3 separate regions of the Homo sapiens genome follow, and all the other regions are linked to region 3. Evidence: promoter capture Hi-C in 16 types of primary human blood cells and fetal thymus (Javierre and others, 2016). All regions are on one chromosome and are shown on one strand. The core of a region is centred on a gene start or on the middle of the fragment in contact, and the rest is flanking DNA. Distances in the headings are between cores, read along the strand shown.

Evidence for each region. Contacts are between HindIII fragments. The CHiCAGO score rates a contact against its expected background, and 5 or more counts as called.
Region 1: a contact is called between a fragment that was not itself captured here and the fragment with the promoter of SLC16A6 in region 3, in 3 of 17 cell types (naive CD4 T cells, naive B cells and total CD4 T cells). The highest score is 6.6, in naive CD4 T cells.
Region 2: a fragment that was not itself captured here is called in contact with the fragment with the promoter of SLC16A6 in region 3 in 1 of 17 cell types (activated CD4 T cells); the score reaches 5.0 in activated CD4 T cells.

What each region holds. Positions count from the first base shown.
Region 1 is chr17:67,958,393-67,962,883 of GRCh38, reverse strand. It overlaps BPTF (bromodomain PHD finger transcription factor), which reads right to left. Exons shown (of 28, transcript NM_182641.4): 24 at 3,009-3,343. Among named protein-coding and RNA genes, the nearest start is that of C17orf58, 36 kb to the left of the region's middle. The HindIII fragment of the contact is 273 bases long and covers 2,776-3,048 here.
Region 2 is chr17:67,983,287-67,987,795 of GRCh38, reverse strand. It overlaps BPTF (bromodomain PHD finger transcription factor), which reads right to left. Exons shown (of 28, transcript NM_182641.4): 28 at 3,418-4,509. Among named protein-coding and RNA genes, the nearest start is that of C17orf58, 11 kb to the left of the region's middle. The HindIII fragment of the contact is 242 bases long and covers 2,552-2,793 here.
Region 3 is chr17:68,287,875-68,292,566 of GRCh38, reverse strand. It overlaps SLC16A6 (solute carrier family 16 member 6), which reads left to right and starts at 1,440. Exons shown (of 6, transcript NM_004694.5): 1 at 1,440-1,481. ARSG (arylsulfatase G) reads right to left here and starts at 1,072. Exons shown (of 12, transcript NM_001267727.2): 1 at 999-1,072. RefSeq lists an enhancer at 1-214 and silencers at 1,074-1,248, 615-1,304. The HindIII fragment of the contact is 8,812 bases long and covers 1-4,692 here.

The DNA.
Region 1 (4,491 bases), core at 1,663-4,162, 330 kb after region 3:
AAATTTGAAAACAAAGCAAAGCGCAAACACCAAGTAGAAGTTACACTACAAGGAACATGCAGGTCAGCCAGGTGTAGAAGATAAATGGTCAAAATATGATATGAAGAAGAAAACTAAGAAAGTACATAGAGTAATTCAATCTCTACCAGGTTTTCTGAATAAACATTGGAATTTAATCGAATTAAAAATAACCTCTCATAATGGAATATGGCACGGGCCAGTTTTCCTGTTAATATAATGTTTGTGACAATGTGGGCAGTGGCCTGGCTAACTAACGGGCAGGGAACGTGGAAGGAGATGCTTCAGTTCAACACCGGGGACAAGGTGTGGAGAATGATGCAAGGATAGTTATCCAAAGCCTGTGAGGGTCTACACTGCTTGGCAAGGGGGAGCTGTGTAAATGTGTGATTGTGGAGAGCAGAGTGGCCTCTGTAACAAAAGACCTAATGACAAAAGGAAAAGTAAATGTAACAAACGCTTACACAGTGTGTCTATAAGTGTTGATAGGCACTGTGTAGGAACACCATGTCAAAGTCATAGTGAGAATTACCATGAATCACAGGGAACCAGACTGGCCTTGCTGATACCATTGGCACTCTTAGTTCTACCAAGGCATTTCTTGGCAGATTCACCTAGAGGAATGGAAGTCGTCCTCAAGCTTCAAATTGACCTGCTTCATGAATGTGAAGGAATAATATATGGTTATGTAGTTTATCCTGTTACCACTAACTTTTTTCTTTTTTTCTTTTGTCTCGCTGTATAGCCCAGGCTGCAGAGCAGGGGCAGGATCACGGCCCCCTGCAGCCTGGACCTCCCAGGCTCATGTGATCCTCCCACCTCAGCCTCCCGAGTAGCTGGGGCTATAGGCATGCGCCACCAGGCCCGGCTTTTTTTCTTTTCTTTTTTTTTTTTGACAGAGCTTTGCTCTGTCTCCCAGGCTGGAGTACAGTGGCATGATCTCGGCTCACTGCAACCTCAGTCTCCCGGGTTCAAGCGATTCTCCTGACTCGGCCTCCCGAGTAGCTGGGATTACAGGTGTGTGCCACCACATCTGGCTAATTTTTGCATTTTTAGTAGAGACAGGGTTTTGCCATGTTGGCCAGGCTGATCTCGAACTCCTGACCTCAGGTGATCCGTCCACCTCGGCCTCCCAAAGTGTTGGGATTACAGGCATTAGCCACCACGCCTGGCCAATTTTTTGTACAGACGGGGTCTCTCTATGTTGCCCAGACTGGTCTCAAACACCTGGGCTCAAGTGATCCTCCCACTTCGGCCTCCCAAAGTGCTGAGATTACAGGTATGAGCCACGGTGCCCAGCACTTTTTTCTTTTGAACTATGACTCTCACATGATTTTCACTGCCACAGGTGGGGGTCCTCTGAGATAGTTTGTGTGTTATCTCCACAGGGTGATAGGCTGTGTTCTGGAAGGATGTTCAGGACTTGAATTTCAGTTTTCAGTCACTCTCACTGGATTCCCAAACCAGCCTAGTTTGGGACAAGAGATTACGAAACACTCCTTAGAAACACTAACTCATCTCAACTAAAATAGGGAGTGAATGAACCTGGTATACTAAAGTGTTAATAATGACAAAATGAAAAATATAAAATAACACAAAATAATGAGGCAATCTCGATGGAATGGGCACATGTATCTGTGTGCCTCATTTTATGCAATGTAGGTATTTCAAAGAAGTTGTGTGTGAAATCAATTTCTGTGATCTGAATACTCTAAACAGGCCAAAGAAGCCTTGTTATTTAAAGAAATTCTGTAAACAAATCTTTTTAACTGAAAAAGTAAGGAAACTCCTGTTTCAGAAATCATTTAGTATATTTTGCTTAAAGTGAGGCACACTTGTATTAAACTAAAGTAAAAAAAAATCAGTGAATCACGTTCTACTGTTTACATTATGTATAATTTCCAATGAGATAAGATAATGAAAAGTGAAGATGCCTAAATTGATTTCTGTTTAATTCAGCACACAGCTCAATCTGCCAACAAAGAGTTTTCATTTGGCATTTGCAAACAGATTATCATTTAGATAGCACCACCAAAGCAGCTTCAATGTTGCAACTTGAACATCATTAAAGGGACCACAATTTTATTTTAGGAATCAATTAGGTATCCACTTAAGGTAGGCATTAAGCATTCCTAATTCTAATTAATTGATTCTAAATGATCAGTTTTTAAAGCACAATCAGACTTTTTGGTCCTGTAAAAAGTATGGTGGTTAACTGTGGCTTTAAAAAGCTGGACTACATTTTAATGTTCAAAGTAGAAGTTAAATATTTTGTAAAATGATAGTAATGACCAAAAAAATGAAACTACATTTACGGTTTAGTGCCTCTATAATCTTGTTTATATCACCAAATACAAGTCACAACTGTCAAAAACAGCTTCCAGCTGCCAAACTGTTGGACGTTATGCTTGAGGAATGGGGGAAAGGAACACTTTTTGTATTTTTCTGGCTTTTGTCTCTGATAAGAAAGTGGAAACTTTGACAAAAATATGAGTTGCAGTATTTTAATACAAAAAAAAACAACTGCTTAAAATAAAACAATTAAGAAACCGAACCACTCAAATTCAAAACCTCTGACCATTCATGTTCAACTGGTTTCCAGGATTTCATGTATTCGCAGGGCTTTGAACAGATCCCAGAAAGGATGCTCTCCATTTTGGGCAACAGTAATACACCTCCTTCTCCAGACATCAATTACTCACTGATTTGGAGTTAATTCAGAGGGAAGAAGAGAAAGCAAAGGAGCAACAGAAAGCTTGTTTTTGACAGAAAAGAATATAACAAAGGACAATCACAAACACGTGAAATAGCAAATTTTACTTTACTAGCGTCAATGGTAAGAATATCACATGCAAGACCATGGATGAAACATTACTCTTAAATTTAATATTTTCATTTATATCACTCCCAAAATATTCATTTTCTTCAAAATCCAATTTAATAGCTAAACTTTCAAGACAAAAAACTAGAGCTCAAAAAGATCTACTCACTTAGATTCATCATAAGGCGTTTTACAGATACAGTAAAGCTTTGTGTCCTTCTTAGTTTCCTTTGAGGTAGTAGAGATCATTTTCTTTTTCTTGGACTTTGAGCTGGAGTCTTTTTCCTCTTCCCGCTTCCTCTTCTGGGAAGCAGCAGGTAAGGTGGGCGTGGACAGAAGGCCTGTGTGTTGCACAGCAGGTGGAGGGGGAGGTGAAGGTGGAGGGGCTGGAGGGGCTGGAGGAGCTGGTGTCACTGGGGGGCAGGGTGCAGCTACTGCTGTGGCCTGAGCCAACTGCATCAGGTCTTTTTCTTTCTTAATTTTCAGGTCTCTCTTCAGCTCTTCCTGTTATCAATTAAAGACAATACAAGACTATCATTAGAGTCATGTAAATGTGTGATCTGGCCAGAAGATGGTACACTACCCACTCTTGTCAAAGTAGCTCCACAGTTCAGCCTAACGTGAGAGTTTTAGTTAGTTGCAAACAAGAGTTTTCTTATATCTTAAACCCAACTAAGACAACTAGAAACAAAATGAAGACTAGGTAAGAACAACTAGAAAGCTGCTAGTTATCTTCAAAGGAGAGCTGACTGAAAGATGAGCCAAGTGGCTAGGAAGAGCGTCCCTCCTGGCTTGCCCCTGTCCCATCTGGGCTCTTTCTGTGGTTGCTCAGAAGGTGATTTCAAGCATCCTCTCTCACTGGCTGCTTTCTTCTAGTTGCTCTTGCTCTCTGTCCTTACAGTGAGACTGGACATGAACTGGCCTTGAGACTCAAAATGTGGTCTGACCAGCATAAAGCAGAAAAGAGGCAGATTTGCCTTATTTATTATGATGCTCCTATGTCTAGAATTTCAGACTGCAGGGAGAGTAGTGCAACATAACGCACTATTTTCTTTTTTTAAAAGATAACTTTCTTTTCATATATATATTTTTTGAGATGCAGTTTCGCTCTTGTCAATGGTGCAATCTCAGCTCACTGCAACTTATGTCTCCTGGGTTCAGGCAATTCTCCTGCCTCAGCCTCCCAAGTAGCTGGGATTACAGGCGTGCAACACCACACCCAGCTAATTTTTTTGTATTTTTAGTAGAAACGGGGTTTCGCCATGTTGGCCAGGCTGGTTGCAAACTCCTGACCTCAGGTGATCCACCCGCCTCGGCCTCCCAAAGTGCTTTGTTGCCTAGGCTGGAGTGCAGTGGCACAATCTCAGCGCACTCCAACCTCCCCACCTCCTGGGTTCAAGTGATTCTCCTGCCTCAGCCTCCCAACTAGCTAGGATTACAGGCACCCACCACCATACCCAGCTAATTTTTTGTATTTTTAGTAGGGACAGAGTTTCATTATGTTGGCTAGGCTGGTGTTGAACTCCTGACCTCAGGCAATCCACCCACCTTAGACTTCCAAAGTCCTGGGATTACAGGTGTGAGCCACACTGCCTGGCCCCTTTTCATATATTTTTTAAAAAGTTTTAATGAGCAGTGAGGACAACCAGAGG
Region 2 (4,509 bases), core at 1,423-3,922, 310 kb after region 3:
AGATGGGATTACAGGCGCCCATCACCACGCCCGGTTAATTTTTGTATTTTTAGTAGAGATGGGGTTTCACCATGTTGGCCAGGCTGGTCTAGAACTCCTGATCTCAAGTGATTCACCTGCCTCGGCCTCCCAAAGTGTTAGGATTACAGTTGAGAGCCACCATGCCTGGCCTTTTGTACTTTTAGTAGAGACGGGGTTTGGCCGTGTTGCCCAGGTTGGTCTTGAGCTTGTGGCCCCAAGTGAATCACTCACTTCAGCCTCCCAAAGTGCTGGGATTACAGGCATTAGCCACTGCGCCCTGCCAATTTGATGGAAAATTTTAATGAGCAAATGCACTATAGTTTCTTATAATCTTGTCCCATTGATAGATTTTTCTTAGCAAATGGGTTTGTGCCTATGTGCACACATTAATAGTCCCTAAATGGAATACTCTCTTGCCTTCAGTAGTAATTCAATAGCATCCCTCCTTCAAATGAAGCTATTATTTTACAATTCAAGGGAAAAAAGTACTTGTTTTTCTTTTTTTTCTTTTCTTTTTTTTTTTTGAGACGGAGTCTCGCACTGCGGAGTGCAGTGGCACAATCTCAGCTCACTGCAAGCTCCGCCTCCCGGGTTCACGCCATTCTCCTGCCTCAGCCTCCCGAGTAGCTGGGACTACAGGCGCCCGCCATCACGCCCGGCTAATTTTTTTTGTATGCTTAGTAGAGACGGGGTTTCACCGTGTTAGCCAGGATGGTCTCAATCTCCTGACCTCACAATCCGCCCGCCTCAGCCTCCCGAAGTGCTGGGATTACAGGTGTGAGCCACCGCGCCCAGCCAAGCACTTGTTTTTCTTTGGGTAGGAAAACGTCTATAAAACACATACACTGTTTGTTTGTTTATTTATTTATGTGAGACTGAGTCTTGCTCTTGTCACCCAGGCTGGAGTGCAGTGGCACAATCTTGGCTCCCTGCAACCTCCACCTCCTGGGTTTAAGCGATTCTCCTGCCTCAGCCTCCCAAGTAGCTGGGATTACAGGCACCCACCACCAGGCCCGGCTACTTTTTGTATTTTTAGTAGACACAGGGTTTTGCCACATTGGCCAGGCTGGTCTCGAACTCCCGACCTTGTGAGCCACCTGCCTTGGCCTCTCAAAGTGCTGGGATTACAGGCGTGAGCCACCACGCCCGACCCATAGCTCTTCACAACTGCCTTGTAAAGAAAGCATCATTTGGCACTGTTAGTATTTCTCTTGAATTTTTTTTTTTTTTTTAGACAGAATCTCGCTCTATCGGCCAGGCTGGAGTGCGGTGGCACCATCTTGGCTCACTGCAACCTCCGCCTCCCGGGCTCAAGCAATTTTCCTGCCTCAGCCTCCCGAGTAGTGGGATTACAGGCATGTGCCACCACAGCCTGCTAATTTTTGTATTTTTAGTAGAGACGGGTTTTCACCATGTTGGCCAGGCTGGTCTCGGACTCCTGACCTCAGGTGATCCGCCCGCCTCGGCCTCCCAAAGTGCTGGGATCACAGGCATAAGCCACCGCGCCCGGATAAAATCATTTTTAAGGCTGACCATTCACACATAGAAACAAACTCATAAAAACTGACCTGCCACCTATAATGCATCACCTCAATTTCAGGAAATATTTGAGCAAGCAATAAATAAATTAGATAAAGCAGGACATTAACATTTTAAAAATATAGCTAATTTTAGTTGAAAATATAGCTAATTTCTTTAGTTGAATTTGGTTCAAATTGGATCAAGCGGTATGATCTTCTGAGAAAATCTTCTAGTATCTCGCTCCAAGTATCCAGAAGTACCTCAGAATGTTTCAAATTATTAAAAATACTTCTCAGCTGGTTCTTACCCCCACCTCCTCAAGTACTTCATTACTTTATCCATGAAATATCACCATTCTCACATTAAGGACAAGAAGTCTGAGACCTACGGTAATAGCTTCAATCATGAAGAGCGAAAGCTGTAATAACCATGTAGCTTTGTCTAAGTGTGCAGAGATCTGAAAGGCCACCAGGTTGGCTCTTTAACATAAAGCAGCAGAGAGTTTGCCTAAAGGAATTAACAGAAATAGGGAAGTAACTTTTATTTGCAGATCCTAGGAAGGTAGATTACAAACAACAGCAAATCTTAGTGTCTCTAAATAACACTCTAGGCCATTTGAAATATAAAAAGGTAATTATTTTCCTTCAGAAAATATCTCCAAAAGCTCACTTTTTTTGAGACGGAGTCTCGCTCTGTCACCCAGGCTGGAGCGTAGTGGCACAATCTCAGCTCACTGCAACCTCTGCCTCCCGGGTTCAAGCTGTCCTCCCACCTCAGCCTCCTGAGTAGCTGGAACTACCGGCGTGTGCCTCTTGTCCAGCTAAATTGTTGTATTTTTAGTAGAGACAGGGTTTCACCATGTTGGCCAGGCAGGTCTCTCCAACTCCTGACCTCAAGTGACCCACTTGCTTCAGTCTCCCAAAGTGCTGGGATTATAGGCGTGAGCCACCATGCCCAGCCACAATTTTATTTAAACCTCCTGCAGAATTTGGATAGGAGAATAAAAGCTTTACCAATAGGAAAATACTTTTCATGAAATGGTTTCAAGGATTGTGAACTTGGCAGGTAAAGTATAACAGGTACTGAAAATACTTTTAGCCAAGGAAATCTATTGATGCAAATTAAATGTATTTATAAGCCCAAGGCCTGGGGTAGAAACATCCTAAGAATATCACAAATGTACAGTTTACTGCCTGAATTATTGGAAGCAAAATAGCTGTATTATGTAGATCTTTCTGAATAGCAGAAGCTTGTCAAAGATTTCTGCTTGTCACAGAAAAGCAGCTTTTGGAATTCATTATGTTCTATAAGAATGTATGGTTTTCAGGCCAGGCGTGGTGGCTCATGTCTATAATCCCAGCACTTTGGGAGGCCGAGGCAGGCGGATCACCTGGGATCGGGAGTTCGAGACCAGCCTGACCAACATGGAGAAACCCTGTCTCTACTAAAAATACAAAATTAGCCAGGCGTGGTGGCGCATGCCTGTAATCCCAGTTACTTGGGAGGCTGAGGCAGGAGAATTGCTTGAACCCGGGAGGCAGAGGTTGTGGTGAGCCGAGATGGCATCATTGCACTCCAGACTGGGCAACAACAGTGAAACTCCATCTCAAAAAAAAAAAAAAAGAAGTATGTTTTTCAAAAATTACTTCTGAAGGACTAAAGCTCTGTAGTTGATGAAACTATAAAATGTCTATGTATTTGTATGGTGATAGAAACTATACAACACTTTATACCGTTAAATACACATATGAAATTAACATCTTCCTGGTTTCAGATTTCCATAAAATTTATCCTTTTTGTACAATTTGGCAAGGCTAACAGCTATAGAAAACATATTAACCAACCAACCATTGCTTCATTAGAAACTGCACCAAATCCAATGTCAAAAACATTACTTTATTTTTCTAGGATGAAATGTCCTATTACGTACAAAAGAATTGCTGTTTAGAATTTGCCACAATTTGTTAAAAACATAGCAATCTATTGCCTACAGGTAGGAAAGTTCTTGCTGCAACAAATTTTAAATGATTAAGCCCATATATATTTATATATATGAATAAATAGTACAGAAATACTGTGACGTGATGAGATGCAGAATAATTTTATAACTCATTAAAATGTAGAATTCTTGCATCAGCACAGTGCATACAATATGTAACATTTTTTAAAAAAGTAAAAGGACAAAATAACCCATATTTAACTACTTCCATCTTAATACTTTAAGCAAAAATTTTTTCATGTTTTCATATTGAGCGATTAGTCTTTAGTTTGTAAGCATAAGTTTAAGTGACATCTTTATGTACAAAAAGGAATGGGCTTCATTAGATAAAATTAACCCAGAATAACCTGTACACCTGAGCCTGTAATAAGAAAGAATCGGGAACTGTAGCAACATCTTTCTTTTAAGAAACTGAGGTCTGGGAAAGGTTTTGCATAGCAGGGAAACATTAAAAGGAAAGAAACTTTGAAAAACAATAATTAGATAAATTCCAGAAGTTGGTAGGACAAAGCTAATATGAGTTAGTGCAAAATCTAGTAAAAATTTTTGCAAAGCTGCATAATCCAACTATGGCAGATTTTATAGAAGCTATTACCACAATGCAGTGATACAACGTGTAAGAACACTGAAAGGAAAAACATGCAAAATACATCTTCCTCTGTGGTTTCCATTTTCTCGCTACTGTTTACACTACTTTTCCTTACGTGGAAGAAACAAACAAACCAACAAACAGAAAACAAACCCAATCAACAAATAACACAGAGGATGAGGTCATCTAAAAAATGCCCTTCATAAAATATAAGTAGCTGTGTGTAATTGGTAATTTGCCTGGTATCACAGAATGTACAGATGAAGGCAATGTGTATCTTGTCGCATTACCGTTCTCGTTAGTATGATCAACTGATGCAACAGGATTAGCACCCCTGAAGATTTTTCTCTGACGTGATGACAATGGACTGGGAATGATA
Region 3 (4,692 bases), core at 191-2,690:
CGGCGCCAAAGTCTGCATACGAATGCAAATAACATGGCCTTTGCTTCCGAGCAGTTTCCAAATTTGCCCTCGGGATGTGAGGTAGAGACCAAGAAGCTAAGTTTGCGCCCCCGCAGGCTCTGAAATGTCTAGGATCTGACACATGCTTTGTCCCCATGAGGAGCTCCTGAGATTTCGCGTGCATCATCCGCTTAGTTCACGGTGACCTTGGGGTCGGGGACTACGGGATGAGGGGCACGGACTGTCTAAACCTCCAGGTCCCTTACAGAGGGCTCCCCGCGGGTATGGGAGCCATGCACCTGTGCCGACGCCGCCACTGCCTGGAGGGTGCGCGCGCGCCCCGGGCCGGGGATGCTGACTCAGCCCGGCTGCTCACATTCCTTTCGCGCAACGCGGATGCTGTTGCTGCCGCTGCTGCCGGTGCAGCAAAGTGGGGGAAGCAAGGCACCCGCAGCGGCCCGGCCGCTCGCTCCCTGGGGCCCACTGCGACACTCCCTCCCCACTGCCGGAAGGGGAACTGTGGGGGTGCGCGAGTTGACGAAACTGGGGGAAGTGGGCGCTGCAGGAGGAACTCAGGCGCCGCGCGCGCAGCTCACACCCAAACTGGAAGGAACCTGTTCTGCCCGGGGCGGGCGCGAAGCCGCCGCAGCCGCGAGCGCCGCGCGGGATCAGCCCCGGCGCGCGCGTGTTCCCCCTCGCCGCTAAATCCCTAAATCCTCAGGGCGCGGGCGGGACTGGGCGGTGGGCGCGCCGGGAAGGCGCCCGGGGGTGGGGACGGGGACCCGCGCGCTCGCGCCTGGCCGAGGTGCTCCGAGACAGGATGCAGGCACCCCCAACACCCTGCACGCTCGCGCTCCTACTAGCGTTGCAGCAAAGCTCCGGGGTCTGGGCGGGTCACGCGCGCAGAGGCGCACCCGGGTTGGGAGATCGGGGCGTTGTGCCAAGGACCCCGGCGGCGCTGGCGGGGGCGGCCCGGCCCCGGACCGCGACGCGGTTACCTTTCGTGACCCCCAGCCCAGGCGGCAGGCTGGCGGGCGCGCGACCGGCGCGGCTCAGGTCCACGTGGGACGGCGCGCGCGCGCCAGGCAGGCCCCCTCCTTGGCTGCGCTCAGCGCTCGCAGCACATGGTCGGCGGCGGCGCGCCCCCGAGGCCGGCGGAGACCGGCTGCAGCCGGTATAGGATAAGAGCTAGGCAGCGACGCGGGGCCGGGGCGCGGGCGGCAGCACGCACGGCCCGGGTCGCAGGCGGCCGGGGTGGGGGGCGGGGGGAGGGTGTGGCTCGGGTGCCCGAGTCGCGGGAGTGGGTGGAGGGCCCGGGCGCTCGGGCCTCACCAGCCCGAGCCAACTTGCGCTAGAGTCGGGCCCGCCCCCTAAGGGGTTAATCCTTTTCTCATGTTACCGAGCGGCTTATAAGGAGGGGGAGGCCAAGCCTCCGCCTTATTGGGAGCCTTTGGGGGTTTATTCTCTTCCCTTCTAACTTGGTGAGTTGGTTTATTATTTTACATGTTTAAAAGTTTGATTGTGGGATGTGGGTTGTTTTTTAAAAAATATGTGTTGGGGCCTTTTTTTGTGATGGGAGGCGGAGGAGACCACTGAACATCTTCACATTTTGGAGAGGTTATTCCCAAAAATATTCGCTCTGACAGTTAGGAATGCCCAGGGCCACCGGGATGACGCGCTCGCGCCGGTGTGGGTAGCTGAGAGTTGAATGTCCGTGACCCTGGTACAGTTGGGTCCCGGAAGATACCTAAAGGCACGCCTGGCCTTTGAGTGCCCCCTGCCCCGGGTTGGGGGCTCCGGGACGTCGGAAGAGTCGGGGGCTCCAGGCTCAGCCCCTCCGCGGATTTTCCGCATGAAGTTGCCTGCGCGTCGCAGGAGCGAAATGTCAGAGGTACCTTCCTACCCCAGGCTGGCGCGCGCACGCAGGCCGGGCACTGAGGCAGCGCGAGGGAAAGTGGGGCTCCCTGCCTCCCCCGACCCCCAAACACAGCACTCCCTGCGGCGGCCACCGTTTGTCCCCAGCGGGAAGCCGGGGATTTCCCGGCAGAGCGCGGGTCCTCCACCTGGACTGTCAGAACTGTCAGCGGCTGACGGCCGGTCCCGCGCAACTTCAAGGTTCCCGGGCTGCCAACCGCAGGAAAGCGCTGGTGTCGCCAAGCAGTTCCGTAGCAAGGGAAGATGGTTTTGCAGAGGAAATGGGTTATTTCCTTCTAGGTTGTTGTCGTCTTTTCTTTTTATTCCCCCCACCCTAGCAAGACAGGTCATAGAAGTTTGTTAGGTGGCGTATATAAAATGTCACCAAACATGGGGGGCGTCAGTCTTAGAAAAAGCTCCCCGGAGCCAACTGGGGAAGAGCAATTACAACTTGTCAACCTGGAAGCCGGTTTTGTTTGCACGGTTAGACACTCCGTGCCAGCTCCTTCTCGCAGGAGATGGTTTCTACCCCGGGAATGAGATTTCTCAGTGATCTGATTGTTTTTGCAAATCATGGTAAGATAGGTGTCTTGCTTGTAAAAAAGATGCCAAGTGCTTATGCTGAAATCTCTAAACCATGCATCTCCCCATGTCCCAAGCACCGTTATGTGGCATTTTTGGGGTCAACAATACATCCGGCCAGATGATATAATAGAAACCCCTCTTCTCATAATTAAGGGAAGAGTGTCCAAAATAGGAACTTACAGTGTGTAAATAAACAATGCAGCCAAGTGGAAAAGCTCCTTCCAGTGTAATGAGTACCACTAACCCTGAGTTTTCCTTCTGTGGTTTCCGAAAAAGGACTTTCCTCAGTGGAACTCCTGAGGAGGACACTTAAATTAGGGGCTCAGGTTTCAACACCATAGTCTTGTAAAATGGTGACTCGGTTGTAGCCAGTGATTCAACATCGTGAGGCAGCTATCCAGGTTAGGTTTGGAAATTTTTTTTAAATAGAGAATGCAGATGAACTTTAGCCAAATACAGACTGGTTTTGACAACTTGGGCCAGAAACAACTTGTCAAAGCTGTTCTCCGGGCTACGCCTTTAAGAAGAAGAGAAATCCGCAGTGCTTTTGCTCGAGGTCTGCCTACAACAGTAGCCACCCCATTTCCATCCAGAGCCTGCGTTTTGAAACTTGCTCTTAGCTGACCCTGGAATAACACTCTGATGGTCTACAATAATACAATTTTTTTCATGCCCTCGGGCCAAATCTTCTCTCGACAAATTAAATCACAGTGAAACTCCCAAGGATAGCGGATTTCCAAGCCTTTGGCAAGATACCTACTTATTTATTTGTTTAGAGGCAGGGTCTCACTCCCATCATGGGAGTGCAGTAGCGTCATCTCTGCTCATTGCAGCCTCGACCTCCCGGGCTCAAGCGATCCTCCCACCTCATTTTTTAATTTTTTTGTAGAGACACAGCCTCACTATGTTGCCCGGGTTGGTCTCAAACTCCTGGGCTCAAGTAATCTGCCTGCTTCGGCCTCCCTAATTGCTGGGATTATAGGCATGAGCTACCGCACCCGGCCAATACTCATTTATTTAAGGGGACACTTAACCACATGCTACTAGGAAATCCTCCAAACTGCCCGTGGATTGTGTCATTGTACTTCCTCCAGAAGAACACTAGGGTGAAGGGAAGATGGCTGCCGGGAACCCCCATTCAGAATTGTCGAGTTTTGTAAGTTGGAAAAGGCTTGAGAGACTCCCCTGACAACCCATGCTTTACAGATGATAGAAGTTCTAGAAGTTCAGGATTCTGTGGTTTCCATAACTGTGCAGCCAGTTAATGGTACACAGAAATTAACAAATATGGCCTAAGAGCTTTAAGAAGACCAACTCTTCGGCCTTGCCTTCAAAGGGCTTAGAAGGATTAAAGCAAGTGACGGTCAAAGGCTGTCATAGAAGTATAGACTATTAGGGCAGGAAGAGATCTAAGCTCATCAGAGTCTAGTTCAACTCCCTTTTTTACATTTACCTTGATTTTACATTGACATTGAAAATGGGGAAGTGAAGTGATTTGCCTAAATTCCATCATCCGTAAAGCAGGGGTTGATGGGCAGGATGACTCAGCTCGCCTCACCAGTTAGATCCCTACACAGCTGAAAAATATCCCTACCCGTCAGATAAATTCACATGGCCACAGACCAAAGTGGACAGATAAACTTTTATATTCTGGAACTTACAGAGGCTTCTGCATAAATGAGTTCAAAATTCAGGCCTCAGTTGCTTTGTTTGCAGAGACAGAAGGTTTGGCCTTCTGCTGAAGGAATGGAAAAAAAGAAAAGGAGAAGGCCGGGCACAGTGGCTCACGCCTGTAATCCCAGCACTTTGGGAGGCTGAGGCGGGCGGATCACAAGGTCAGGAGTTTGAGACCAGTCTGACCAACATGGTGAAACCCTGTCTCTACTAAAAATACAAAAAAAAAATCAGCCGGGCGTGGTGGCATGCGCCTTTAATCCCAACTACTCAGGAGGCTGAGGCAGGAGAGTCGCTTGAACCCGGGAGGCAGAGCTTGCAGTGGGCTGAGATCGCACCACTGTGCTCCAGCCTGGGAGACAGACTGAGACTCCATCCCCAACCCCCAAAAAAAAAAAAAAAAGAAAGGAGGGAGGGAGGGGGAGAGAGAGAGAGAGAGAAAGAGAGAGAGAAGAGAAGAAGAGAAGAGAAAAGAAAAAAGGGAGAAGAGTCCAGGAAGGGTTTTATTCTGCAACCAAG